Linked DNA regions of Homo sapiens: all the other regions are linked to region 1. Evidence: promoter capture Hi-C in 16 types of primary human blood cells and fetal thymus (Javierre and others, 2016). All regions are on one chromosome and are shown on one strand. The core of a region is centred on a gene start or on the middle of the fragment in contact, and the rest is flanking DNA. Distances in the headings are between cores, read along the strand shown. Region 1 holds the start of NFIB (nuclear factor I B). Region 2 has its middle 220 kb from the start of LINC00583. Region 3 holds the start of LINC01235 (long intergenic non-protein coding RNA 1235). Region 4 overlaps LINC01235 (long intergenic non-protein coding RNA 1235).

The links. Contacts are between HindIII fragments. The CHiCAGO score rates a contact against its expected background, and 5 or more counts as called.
Region 2: a fragment that was not itself captured here is called in contact with the fragment with the promoter of NFIB in region 1 in 1 of 17 cell types (endothelial precursors); the score reaches 6.7 in endothelial precursors.
Region 3: a contact is called between a fragment that was not itself captured here and the fragment with the promoter of NFIB in region 1, in 2 of 17 cell types (M2 macrophages and endothelial precursors). The highest score is 7.7, in M2 macrophages.
Region 4: a fragment that was not itself captured here is called in contact with the fragment with the promoter of NFIB in region 1 in 1 of 17 cell types (M1 macrophages); the score reaches 5.7 in M1 macrophages.

The regions. Positions count from the first base shown.
Region 1 is chr9:14,312,830-14,315,775 of GRCh38, forward strand. NFIB (nuclear factor I B) reads right to left here and starts at 1,312. Exons shown (of 11, transcript NM_001190737.2): 1 at 653-1,312. The coding sequence starts at 682. RefSeq lists a silencer at 721-1,015. The HindIII fragment of the contact is 4,177 bases long and covers 242-2,946 here.
Region 2 is chr9:13,705,517-13,708,529 of GRCh38, forward strand. No RefSeq gene overlaps it. Among named protein-coding and RNA genes, the nearest start is that of LINC00583, 220 kb to the right of the region's middle. The HindIII fragment of the contact is 2,152 bases long and covers 651-2,802 here.
Region 3 is chr9:13,430,924-13,434,291 of GRCh38, forward strand. It overlaps LINC01235 (long intergenic non-protein coding RNA 1235), which reads right to left and starts at 406. Exons shown (of 3, transcript NR_033863.1): 1 at 280-406. The HindIII fragment of the contact is 5,522 bases long and covers 1-3,368 here.
Region 4 is chr9:13,411,249-13,414,256 of GRCh38, forward strand. The region is part of intron 2 of LINC01235 (long intergenic non-protein coding RNA 1235); the gene reads right to left. Among named protein-coding and RNA genes, the nearest start is that of LINC01235, 19 kb to the right of the region's middle. The HindIII fragment of the contact is 857 bases long and covers 1,255-2,111 here.

The DNA of each region.
Region 1 (2,946 bases), core at 62-2,561:
GACCAACTAACTCGTGTCAACGTAAATACTGCCTTTGTGGTGCGGTCACTAGAAACCCCAAAGTGCAGCAGGTCACTATGGACCAGGGTTTCAGATCCCCAAATAAAGCAAAGGAATGGGTCCCCGGACCACAACCTCCGACTCGATTCGTCGCCCGCCCACCGCCTGCAGCGCAGTCCAGCGGCGCCCACACAGACTCGTGCTACAGTCCCCTCGCCCAAGTTCACTGGCTGTTTTTAAAAGCTTAGTCCCCCGTAAAGTCCTCCAAAGCCCGAGTCCACCTCAACGCGCGAGCTGCTGAGAGGGGCTACGGGCACCCCGGGCGGGGATGCCGCACCACAACGGGCACTTGAGGGGCCGCACGGGGCCTCGCACTTACAGGTCCCGGCCCTGCCCACCCCCCGGCGGCCTTGCCCGGCCCAGCGCCCGCGCTCCGTGCCCAGGGCGCGGGGCTGGGCGCTCGCAGTGGCCGTGGCGAGGGGCCGCTCCCGGCTCCCACGCCGCCCCGCGACGCCCGCTGCAACTCCGGGCCACTTCTCCAAGGGACGGGGATGTGCGGAGGTTAACTCAAGCCGCTAATTGTCCGCAACAAAACAAAACAAAGGCATTTCGGGCCAGAGAGAAAGCTCGAGAAAGCGACCGAGACATGTACCTGAGTGAGACAGATGGGAGAATACATCATGACTTCGCCTTAAAACGCACTTTCCGGGAGATGCCCAAGAAAATCTTCGAGAAGCAAGAATTTCATCTATTCATTTTACAGTCATCTGAGCCCCGCGATGCGATCAATCAGGACGGGGCTCTGCGCTGGATCACCGCAACTTCACAACAAACCCAGTCCTCCTTAAATAGCCAAAGATTCAAGTTCACTCGGCGTGCTAGATTTCCAGGGGTGAAATCCAATCTACACTTTTAACCCTCTTGCAGTCCGAGCGCGCTGGCCGTGCTTGCCGAGGCCGCCGCCGCCGCCGGTGTTGGCTGCTTTTCGCCTGGGTTTGGGGATTTGTTTTCTATTTTGCAGTTGTTGTTGTTGTTGGGGTGTAGGGGGTGCGCGAAGGTTCGGTGTGGGTTGGATTGGGGTGGTGGTTGGTGGTAAAATGCTTTTTCAAAAAAGGCGGGGAGGGGGGCGCGGGAGGGCGCAGGAGGGCGAGCGGGCGGGCGGGAGGGAGAGCGGGGAGAATGTGTCACCGCGCTGGGAAAGTTCAAGGTTACAGCCCCAAGCACTGCGGCAGGATCCCGGAGTGGTGATCGCAGGCGAAACTTTGCCGCGAGCCGACCATGTGTGTGCGCGAGGGGCAGCGTGAGCGAGTGCGCGCGGGTGGCGGGGCGCGCGCGGGAGAGGGCCGGGGTGGGGGCGGGGTGGGATGGGGGAGAAGGGAGAGGCCGGGGTGAGGGAGGGGGCGCGAGCGCTGATCTCTGGGGCGGAAGAGGCTCGCGGCGCGTGGTCCCCGGCAGCAGCAGCCGCCGCCGCCCGCGCCGGGTCTTCGGCGCCCGGCCGCCCGCCCGCCCGCCTCGCCCCGCGTCTGACCCGGCCGAGCGTGGAGGCTGCTGTTGCCGCCGCTGCCCAGAGCCCAGGGGTATCAAAACGATCTCCTGAAAAATTCCAAACGATAAATCCCGCTCTCCCGCTCGGCTCCAAACTCCTCTCTTTTCTGCTCTAGGCTCTTTTTTTTCCCTCCCTCTCTTGCTTTCTTTCGTTGCAAAACTTGGAAGTTGAAAAATTCACCGGTTCCACCCTCTGGACCCCGCTCGAGCTCTCTCCAAATCAGACTTAAGGATTGTTTTATTATTTAATTACACAATCATCGCTTTACTCCTCCTCCTGCAAACGCGCATTCCTTTTGCACCAGCCTCTCCACACCCCCCGCCCCCCCACCTTCCTCCTCCTCCTCCTTCTCCTTCTCTCCCCCCACCTCTCCCTCATTTGTTAAAGGTATCCTACCGGTGCTACAGAACCATGACTTTTTTTTTTTTTCCAAAATAGCTCTTCTTTCCGCTGCCCTCCCCACACCAGCACACACATACACACCCCCGAAAACCCGCCCTGGAAGAGGTATTTCGGTGCTCGCTGCGGACTCTTTTAAGCCGCGGGAACATCCGAGTGGGAGAAGCACCGAAACCGTCTGAGCCCGAGAAAGGAACGAGTGGAAAATTCCCTCACACCCAGGCCGCCCCCAGGCCGGGGCTGGGGCGCGGACACTCGCACCCGGGGCGGGCTCAGTCCGCGGAGCCTGCGGCTGCCGGGAAAAGGGGGAGGCCGAGCAGGCGGGGACCTGAGCGAACTTGGGCTCAAGTAGTTGGGGCGCGCCGGCGTGGACCAGGGGGGTGCGGCGCCCAGCCCCCGACGGCCCCGCCCGGAGCCCGGGTTCGCGGATAGGGAGGGGGTGCGGGTTCGTCCCGGGTCTGCCCACCAGGGGCCCGCACCCGAGGCAGTCGCGGCGCGCGGCGCTTCGCCGCGGTTTGCCGCCCTCCCCGGGGGTGCCCCGTGCACGTGGCCTCGCTCTGAGCGGGAGGACCGGGCCGAGCCGCCGCCGCCGCCTCTTGCTCCCTCCACCTCCTCCCCGCGCCCGGCTTCGCTCTCCTCCTCCTCCTCCTGCAGCCCCGCTGGCTGGCTCCCAATCCCCACCCCCCGGGGCCCGGGGCGCCGGCGGAAAGCGTCTCCCTACCCGCCCGGGTGCAGGCGGGGCGGGGCCGCGGCGCGCCCGGGGCTGCGGGGCGGGCCGGCGGGCGCGCGCGCGCCGCTGCAGCCCTCCAGAGGCTGCGGGCCCTGAGCCGCTCGGCGCCCGCGCCGGCTCCCCACCGCGGCGCTGCCCCGCCCCCACCCCGTCGCCCGTGCAGGCTCCGAGTGAATGAACTTGATTCCAGGGATTTTGAAGAAGGCGGTTCGCCTTGCACCCTTTCTGCACCCCCCGCCCACATACACACACCGCCCCCCAAATCCAGTTT
Region 2 (3,013 bases), core at 477-2,976, 610 kb before region 1:
AGCAATTGCTGCAGCACAGTCATCCACTATAACCTTTGACTGCTGATAATCTCTGTATTCCAGACTGTTTTGCAGCTGGTCACATGACTGACAAGTCCATTCATCAGGAATGTTCTTCCTTCACCCGAGGCCAGCCATCCACTTCAGCTTTTAGACATGAATTAAGCAGAACAGAGGTTTTTAAAGTAAATGCTTTAAGATATGCTAGTCTTCTGATTTCCCCCAACCCTAAAAAATAATTGGACAAAAGCAATACCCTGTTGGGTTGAGAATTTATAAGGGAGGGCTTCTTTGAGATGTACAGTTGTTTTGAGACTGAAATGGCAGTCGATAAGTTGTGTTCGTGTTGAAATAACAATGTAATTATGTGAAGCTGCTTATCTTTAGTATCTTCAGGCAGAAAAAATGTTTAGAAAACCTCACTGAGTCCCCAAAGTTTTCCAGGGATTGTCTGAGACGCCTTGGAATGCTAGCAGAATCCACACAGGCTGATTAGAGGGGAAGCTTTCAGCACTCTTAAAAACTCTCACGTTATTTTCTCCCTTGGGAAGCTGCTGAAGAACATGTTGTATTGGGAGTGCAAAGCCGCTAGGTCAATGGAATCATTTCTTTGTGACTTGGGGATTTCTCAGAGCCAGCAATGTTATCCAAGCTTCATCCCTGTGACTGAGGAGAATTGCATCAGCTGCTCACGGGATACCAGATCTCAGTACGACATCTATTTAAGCAATGCCCTGCATGGCAGATGTCAGAGTGCAGTTACTGGATGCACGTGTGACTGAGTACAGTGAAGCCTGGTTTATTCTCTTGGGCTTACTAGCAAGTTTCAAAAAATATTTGGAAAAAAAGTTGTGTTACAGTAATATGACTGTCAGGAAGAAAATTAGAATTATCTTTGTGTCCTATGTGTATAAAAGTTAGTTGTATGTGGTTCTTTGTGCATATTTGTAAAAATGCATGTGACATAGATGCAAAAAAGATAGGCAGTAGTGAACAGGTGTCTTCAGCTTAATGTCAAGCAACAATTTTTGTCCCAGCTCTGCTTCTATCTAACTCTGTGTCTTGAAATCACCACTTAGTGTTTCTTGTCCTTAATTATCTTGAATAGAAACACAGGGGTTTGAAATCTATGGAGTCATTTCCTTCTTTTTTAAAAATTCCTAGGTTACAGGAAATGAAATTAAGCAACAATCTTATTTCAAAAGCATCTTGAACAAGAAAACTTTCAAAAGAAATAAATGAATGATATTCAAATAATAGTATTTTTTAGAAAAAGTATTAATTTAGGATTTAAGAAAAACTCTGGTGATTTTTTTCCTTTTGGCCAAGGCTATATCCACATACATCTGGATAAAAGTGAAAAAGAAAATATGCCAATCACCCAGATGGTTCTAAGTGTTTGATATCTGTCATCATGCAGGCCAAACACCTGGGTGATTGTGTTCATTTTCACCCTTCAGCCAGATGTTTTGAAACCACGGAGGTATGTCTTACATAAAAAAAAATTAAGCAGAATGGGGTGCAGTAAGAGGTAGAAAAAGAAGAAAATCAGCAATTTTTGAGCACCTACTCCCTGTCAGACACTTTCTTTCGTATTTTAATCCTCATAAGAACTCCATGAGGCATTATCTCCAACTTATAGATAAGGAAACTGAGGCTTGGAAATCTAAATTATTTGCCAATGTCACATATCTAAGAAGTAGTAAAGCTAGGATTTGAATTCTGTATTATAGAAAAAAATATTAGAAATAAATGCAATTAAGTTACAGGTAATGAAATTAGAGCTGAGAAAGAGTGCCTGCGTAAATAACACATACATGTAGATATTGAAACAGACGTAACTACTGCTACTGTTATTCATCTTAAGAACTTTTTACTCCAAGTCTATAACAAATGCCCATAGAAGGAGTAAGCAAAACCAGCCTAGAAGAACTGGCCCACTGTTGGACAGGTCTCTTGGTTGTGCCATGTATTTCTTTGGCTCCAACCACGTAGTAAAATTGAACACAATTGTCTCATTAATTGTTTTACCTCCCTTAAGTTAGGAATCTTGGATGATTTTGTAAAACTACCTAGTTTATTATACAAGTGTATGTAGAATAGCGTGCAAATATATGTGTGATGATTTACTAGGAAGAAGATTCTGAATATTTGATTTTATAACTCATTGTAAATAACCTGGGGGGTAAACTTCCCTGTATACAGCAGAAGGCAAGTTGGCCCATCCCAAGGTTCTCAACAATGGCTTTATCTTTGGGGAAATAATGAATCAGACTATTCCTCCATTATATGCCAAGAAACATAAGTTCCTGAGCCCACATGGAAAGGGAACTGAAAGCACCCTTTGCACGACTCTGCTTATATGGTAATACTGCTGACTCACATCCAGGGCAAAAATGCCCTGCTCTTACCCAGACAGCAAGCACAGGAGAAGAGAATAACTCTTATGAGGTTACTTTACCTGGCTTCCCCACTGTTTTGTAACAATGCAGGTATGTCTTACATTAAAAAAATTAAGCAGAATGGGATGCAGTAAGACAAAAGATGATCCTGAAGATGATCATGGGTCTTGAATATGATTGTGATGGGAGGTCTGGTCCTAAGTTTACTTACCCCAGTTGCTGACCTGCAAGTTAGAGCACTGGGAAGAACATTCACTTTTTAAGTAAATATAAGGATGAGAATTTACAGAGTAAGGAAATGGGGTCGAAGGAGGGCAGATGAGTGTATAAATGTTAGTTCCAGAATATGAAGGAACGGGTTGGAGATAATGCATTCTTTGGAAATAGCAAATGCTGTTGAAGCTTTTCAAAAAAGGAAATAAATCATAAAAGAATTTGGAATGCTTTTTATGGGTTGAAGTAGAAGAAAATTGAACATCAATATGATTCTGGAAAGAAATTTTGTGTCACTGCATTATTTAAATGTTAGGGGAAAATGATCAAAGCAGCCAACATTCAAAAAGGAATAATCTCTTTGGAAAACTTAATACACACATATCTGCAAATATTTA
Region 3 (3,368 bases), core at 11-2,510, 880 kb before region 1:
ATAACTAAACAATAAATCATTTTGAATTTCACGCATGCACAAATCTTTTGATACATAAATGACAAGGTTTAGGTTCGGAGGCTACCACCTCTGTTCCAGTAGTTATCATACAAGATAAAGAGTTGTTTTTAAACTGTGGTGCATTGCTCATTCTGGTCCCCACATGATGGGGCTTCTTTCACCCCTTGGGTGGTGGTGTGTGTATGATGCACGGCCTGGGAGTTGTTTGTGTGTGTGTGTGGTGTGTAGCGGGGGCCATGCTGTTAGGGGGAAGCCTACCACACATTTCTGCCATCGCAGACGGTGGGCAAACAGCTGTCTCCACAGCTGAGACCACTGGAGCTGCTTGCGCTGCTCCAGTAACTCGAGAGCACACGGCTGGTCCCTGGATGGCACAGAGCACTGTGCCTGCAGCAAAGTGCCTGAGCTTTCCTGGGGCTGAGCGGGCGGGGTCTTTGCCACCAGACACAATAAGCATGTGAAATGGGGTTCATGAATTATTCATCCTTGGTGTCCTATGAAACAAAGAAATGATATGTTTGCTGGTAGATAACTGTGTTGTGGCATTTGTAAATCTTTTTGAATTTGGAGTTGATCATGTTTCTTGTGTTGGTGGGGAAATGTGTGTGTGTGTGTGTGTGCGTGCGTGTGTGTGCGTGTGTGTTTTTTCCCTAAAATAAAAATTTGGGAGTTCAACACAATAATCTTACAGCAAAGGTCTTCCATGAAATATTGCATGGATTATACTATTTTGGCTCATGATTTACGGATTTTAAAAATCTCATTCAGTGAAAAGGGATGTTAAAATGGTTTCACTGCAATAAACTACAGCAAGATACCAGGTTCTCAAGGAGTTTATTTTTCTCCTTAGTAGGCATCCAGCCCACTTTTGTTAATGCAAGTTTCATTACTGTGGACTAGAGAACAGTGGTGCCTTCAGCATGACACTACAGCATCGGGAGGAATGATTCTTCACTTTCACTAAAATATTAGTAAAAATGATACTTTGGCGAATTGAGCCCTAAATTGTGTTAGTGACAGTTAAATACCCACTAATTTAACACCAGTTAAACTGGCAATAAAATGACCCCCAACTGAGTTAAGCCACCATCCTATTCCTGCACAATAGCTCCAGCCCTAATGCCAGTGATCTATAAAGCCACTGGGTAGAGTTTATGCATTTGCATAACAAATATTTCTGGAGTGTTGTATAAAGTAGCTAGCTACTCAAACTTATCATAATTGTTATTTATAATTATCATCTGCATATTCCTTTCATTTATTCTTTAATATCTCAAAGAAAATAAAATGATTTAATAGTTCTTCATTATCTTTGAAACACAACCTGGTGAAACATATCATGGTAATGTTCACTGTCATCTCTTCAATAATTATCTCAGGTCTGTCTTCCAGTAGTCACTCATGCTTTCTCCATCACACTTTTTTTTTTGCAGTATCTCCTCGCAGTCTCCCTACCTTTCAGGTTGCCTGTGAAGTACTGTGTATCCATAAACCTCCCACAATCTGATATGTTTGGCAGAGAAAATCAGGGAAAAGGCACGTTGATTGTGCTGAAAGAAAAAAAACAAGCAAAAACAAAATATGGATCTGCCAATTACATGCTGGAGTGAAAATACAATTCCTTCTTGCTTTCAGGTGAGGGAGTTGGCAGGTGGGGTGTGAATTGGTAGGTAGTAGGACTTTCAGTAAAAAGAAGTGTAGCAAATGCTGTATGATGGGTGTTTTTTGGATTTTTTGTTGTTATTTGTTTCCTTAAGCCCCAATAGTGTACCAGATAGTAGACTCAAGATATATATATATATATATATATATATATATATATATATATATATGCACACACACACACACACACACACACACACACACACACGTAATGATTACCTGTCTTTACCTTGGACATGTAGGATTAATTAAGATTACAAATAAAATTATAATAGGACATAAATTGCTTCTTACCTTTTTGAAAGAAAATAGATATCCAGTGGAGGTAAATGGTAACAATGTCCTGGAACCAATGAGATAATCATTAGGCATAGAAGTGACAACCTTAAGAGGAACAAAACAGAGACAGAGCCCTAAAGGACTTAGGCAGAGTTTAATGGAAATTTTCCTGATTTCTCATTCACTGCTTGCATCACCTCTACTTCCTCCTTGTGTACTTTGTTTTAGTGTGAGACAGCGGAAGTGGCTAATAATATTTCCTCCCCTCAGCCAGGATGCTTTTTCAGCTTCAGTTGGTCATTGAAAGAGCCCATATTGCTATGATTTTCTGGAATATTATCACTTGGTCCTCCAAAATTTTGTTTTTAGTATATAGAAAAAAATCCTTTATGGGAATAACAGGCAAATTAATGTTTCTAATTATGTATATTATTCCGTTTATATATCTGAGAACTAGGGCTGGGCACGGTGACTCACGCCTGCAATCTCAGCACTTTGGGAGGCTGAGGTGGGTGGATCACTTGGGTCAGGAGTTTGAGACCAGCCTGGGCAATGTGGTGAAACCCCGTCTCTACTAAAAATACAAAAATCAGCTGGGTGCGATGGCGGGCGCCTGTAATCCCAGCTACTTGGGAGGCTGAGGCATGAGAATTGCTTGAACCCAGGAGGCAGAAGTTACAGTGAGCCAAGATCATGGCACTGCACTCCAGCCTGGGAGACAGAGTGAGACTCCATCTCAAAATAAATAAATAAATAAATAAATAAATAAATAAATAAATAAAATAAATATGTGAGAACTACAAGGACATTTAAGTAAAAGGTATTTAAGGATATATGCTATAATAGCAATCAAAGAGAAGAATCAGCAGGAAATTAATCAACAATTTATAAAATTGATAGTCTATGTACGGTTAAGAAAACCCAGGATCTTTGGATCACAGACACTTGGATTTGAATCCTGTCTGTGCTACATTTGTGCTACAATGACATTTAACCTTCCTAAATATGTGTCCTTATCTGTAAAATGGGGACAGAAATACATAGAATATTTTTTAAAAATCAGAACTAGTGATCTACTATTTGTGAAGCATGCATGGTAATCTGTAACCCTCTAAAGACGTTAAAATCACCTGGAGAGCTTTGAAAATCTGTTGATGCCCTGTTACCATCTCCGACCAATTACATTCAAGTCTCTGGGGAATGGACCTTGGCATTATAGTTTTTAAAACCTCCCCAGGTGATTCTAGTGTGCAACCAAGGATTTCAACAACTGGTGGAAAAGTCGAAAACTGAATGAACACTCAGTAAATATTTTCCAGCTTTCCTTGTCTATGTGGTATGAACATTAGCCTAATTAGGATGCAGATTTTTATTACTCAAAAAAATTCTCAAGGTCAGTTCAAATC
Region 4 (3,008 bases), core at 433-2,932, 900 kb before region 1:
CAGGTATTTGGCTTGTGTTCCTTCAAAAAATATCGTTAACATTCCCATTGGACAGATGATGAAACCGAGTCTCAGAGACGATAAGCAATATGCACAAGCTTATAGTCCTCACTAGCTACAGATGCACAATTGCCATACGATTCTATTGACCCTATCTAGAAAATTAATATATTTTGCTCTACCACCAAACTATAAGGTAATGTTATTCTTTCTCTGAAGAAATTAATGTATGATGTTAAAAGAATCCTTCTTGGGTCAATGACAGCCACTCATCTCCCTGTGAACCAGAGAAACAGACTTATAAATAATAAAACACTATGCATAGCAGCCACCTGGCACCTAAATATTAATAGTGTGTATGTGAAACACTTTTATATAACCACATTAAAGGCATTAAATAAATGTCAAGGCTTGAAAAATACCACTTTGGGTCACTGCTGGCCACTAAACTCTACAGTCTGACTATTAAAGCAGTGATTGTTTTTTTTTTAAGACATTCGCTTTTCTGGGCTTTTCTTTCCAGGAAAAATTGTATCTTTCTGAACCATAAGGAGAGCAGTTTGAAGCTTAAAATTTGTAAACATAATTACTATTTATGAAGTTTGAGCCATAGTTACTCCTAACCATTTCCACTCCTTTTCTCCCAACTCAGTGTTTTCAATCTCTCCACAACCTGGGCAACTCAGTCTGGGAAATTCTCCACAGTGCAGAGCAGAACCAGGGCCCTCTGTGTGCATAGAGGACAGGCTTTTACCATCAGTGATGAAGCATTTGTTCCTTTCTCCAGCTCCTTCTGGGAAAATGGACTTCCCAAGAGGGAAGCTTTTCTGATTAGGAAAGTTTTTCTGATTCCCTCTTCCTAGATAAATCATATTGTGAATTATTTTGTTGAATTCCTTTCCATTTGTTTTCTATTTAGTTCTTGCTTCATTCCCTGTAGATCTCATACATCCCTCTGAATAGTAAATTCTAATCTGTTTTCAAAATAAACATGCAATTGAAGAAAGAAATATTAGGAGGAAGGACAAGAAGGAAAGAATCCAACTAATCTTGATTATATATTTAAAGCATTTTTAGGAGCTATATCTTTCTCCACAGCTCTACTCTCACATCAATATATTATCTGACTTCTGTAAAAACAAAGGCAAACAGATACAATTTTTTTTCTAGTTAATTTTAAGCAAAATGCAGAACATGTCATCTACACACCCCTGGACCTTGGCCGATTTCCAGAACTCTAGATCTGTTTCCAGAAGCTTCTGCTGCTTTGTCAGTACAATTTCGGCTAGACTGACCTTATGATCTCCAGCATCATTTTCTAGTCATTCTTTTCCAAGCAAAGCCATAAGGATGGGAAGAAAATTCTCTGGAATGTGACAAAACTGGCACAATGAGAACCTTATAAGGTTTGTGCTGGCAGCAATGCAAAAATCACACTGGCTAGGAGAATTAACCATACCATGTGTAGTTTCATGGTAGGAACTTATGGTTCTCAGTAATTAATGTCCATGGTATAATCAAAAGCATATCATAATTTTATCCATGTTCTAATAGGAGATATATTGCTTTAAATATAATCGTATGTAATAGCCTAATTTTCTAGGCAACTTTTTGAGCTCTTCTACATTTTAGGACTAGAAAAATAGTGCCAGCTTCTGACAAATATGAAAAAAACATGTTTACAATGGATTTTAACATATTTTGTTTCCTTTAAATAACATTTATCCTGAAAAGTATTTATTAGTGCCATGTATATTTACGATAAGAAAAAAATAAAAGTACCCCTATTCTGATTGCTAAGATACAACCACTGATAACATTTTAGTTATTTCCTTCTAGCATTTTTCTGCACATTTAATTACATATAAATAATCACATAATTAGAGAACACTGTACAATTTGCTTCATCCTTTTTCACTTATGTGATAATAGCTATTTCCCTATATCCTATTTGATGTTAAAATAATGAATCTCTTTGAGGAGAAAAGAAGTTAGTTTTTGAGAGGCACCATTAAGTAGTTGCCTCATTATTAATTCTTTTTAAATTAATGAGAATTATTTATACTTATAGTTTGTGCACTTTTTGTTCTGTATATTACACTTCAATAAAAAGCTTATTAAATACAAAATCTCAAATTAATTAAAATGTGATTCACCATGACTACGTAACATTCCATCATGCATCTTAACTATGATTAATTAGGCCATTCTCCCATCCTTAGACATTTAGTTTGTTTTCAGTGTCTAATACAAATAACACTGCTATAAATACACTGGTATTAAATATTCCTCTGTATCACATTCACTTAGGGTAGAGTTCTAGCATTTTTTGCCTCTTTCTTGAGAAGAAATGCATTATAATGAGGGAGAACGATTAATGTAATACATTTTCTGCAATGTATTTATTGCTGGGGTAAACTGGTAGAACTCTTAAATTCCTATAATTATAGTCTGAAAGAGAAGGTGGGACTGCAAAATCCTGAGCTGGGCCCCACATGTGAACCAAGTTTCACCTATATGTGAAACTTGTACGTGTAGGGGAGATATTCTTCATCCCAGTAAAATGAACAGTTGTCTGTTAAATTCAATTGAGTAAACCATTTTTGAGCACCAAGTACATGGCAGGACTCTCCTAGACACTAGATACAGAGATGCGAAAGGTACAGCTCTGTACTTGTTTAGGAATAAGAGTTGACCCCTGAGGAAGAGTCTCAAACCACTGTGGACATGAATGTTCCTCCTCATTTCACAATCCCTTTATCTGTACATTGGGATAATAATACTTAACCTCAGTGGCTTGTGGTGAGAATTAAGTCAGTGTTTACAGAGCACTAGCCAAGGGTGCTATTCAAAATATTTAACAATCCATATAAACTGGCACCAATCAATCAGAAGAAATCCTGGTTTGGACAAAATGGAGGCAGTCGGTAAAGAACTGTTCTCCGACCTGATGCCTTCTGGCCAAGTACTTTGTGCCCTTGTGTAATATAGGTACTGACGATCATTAG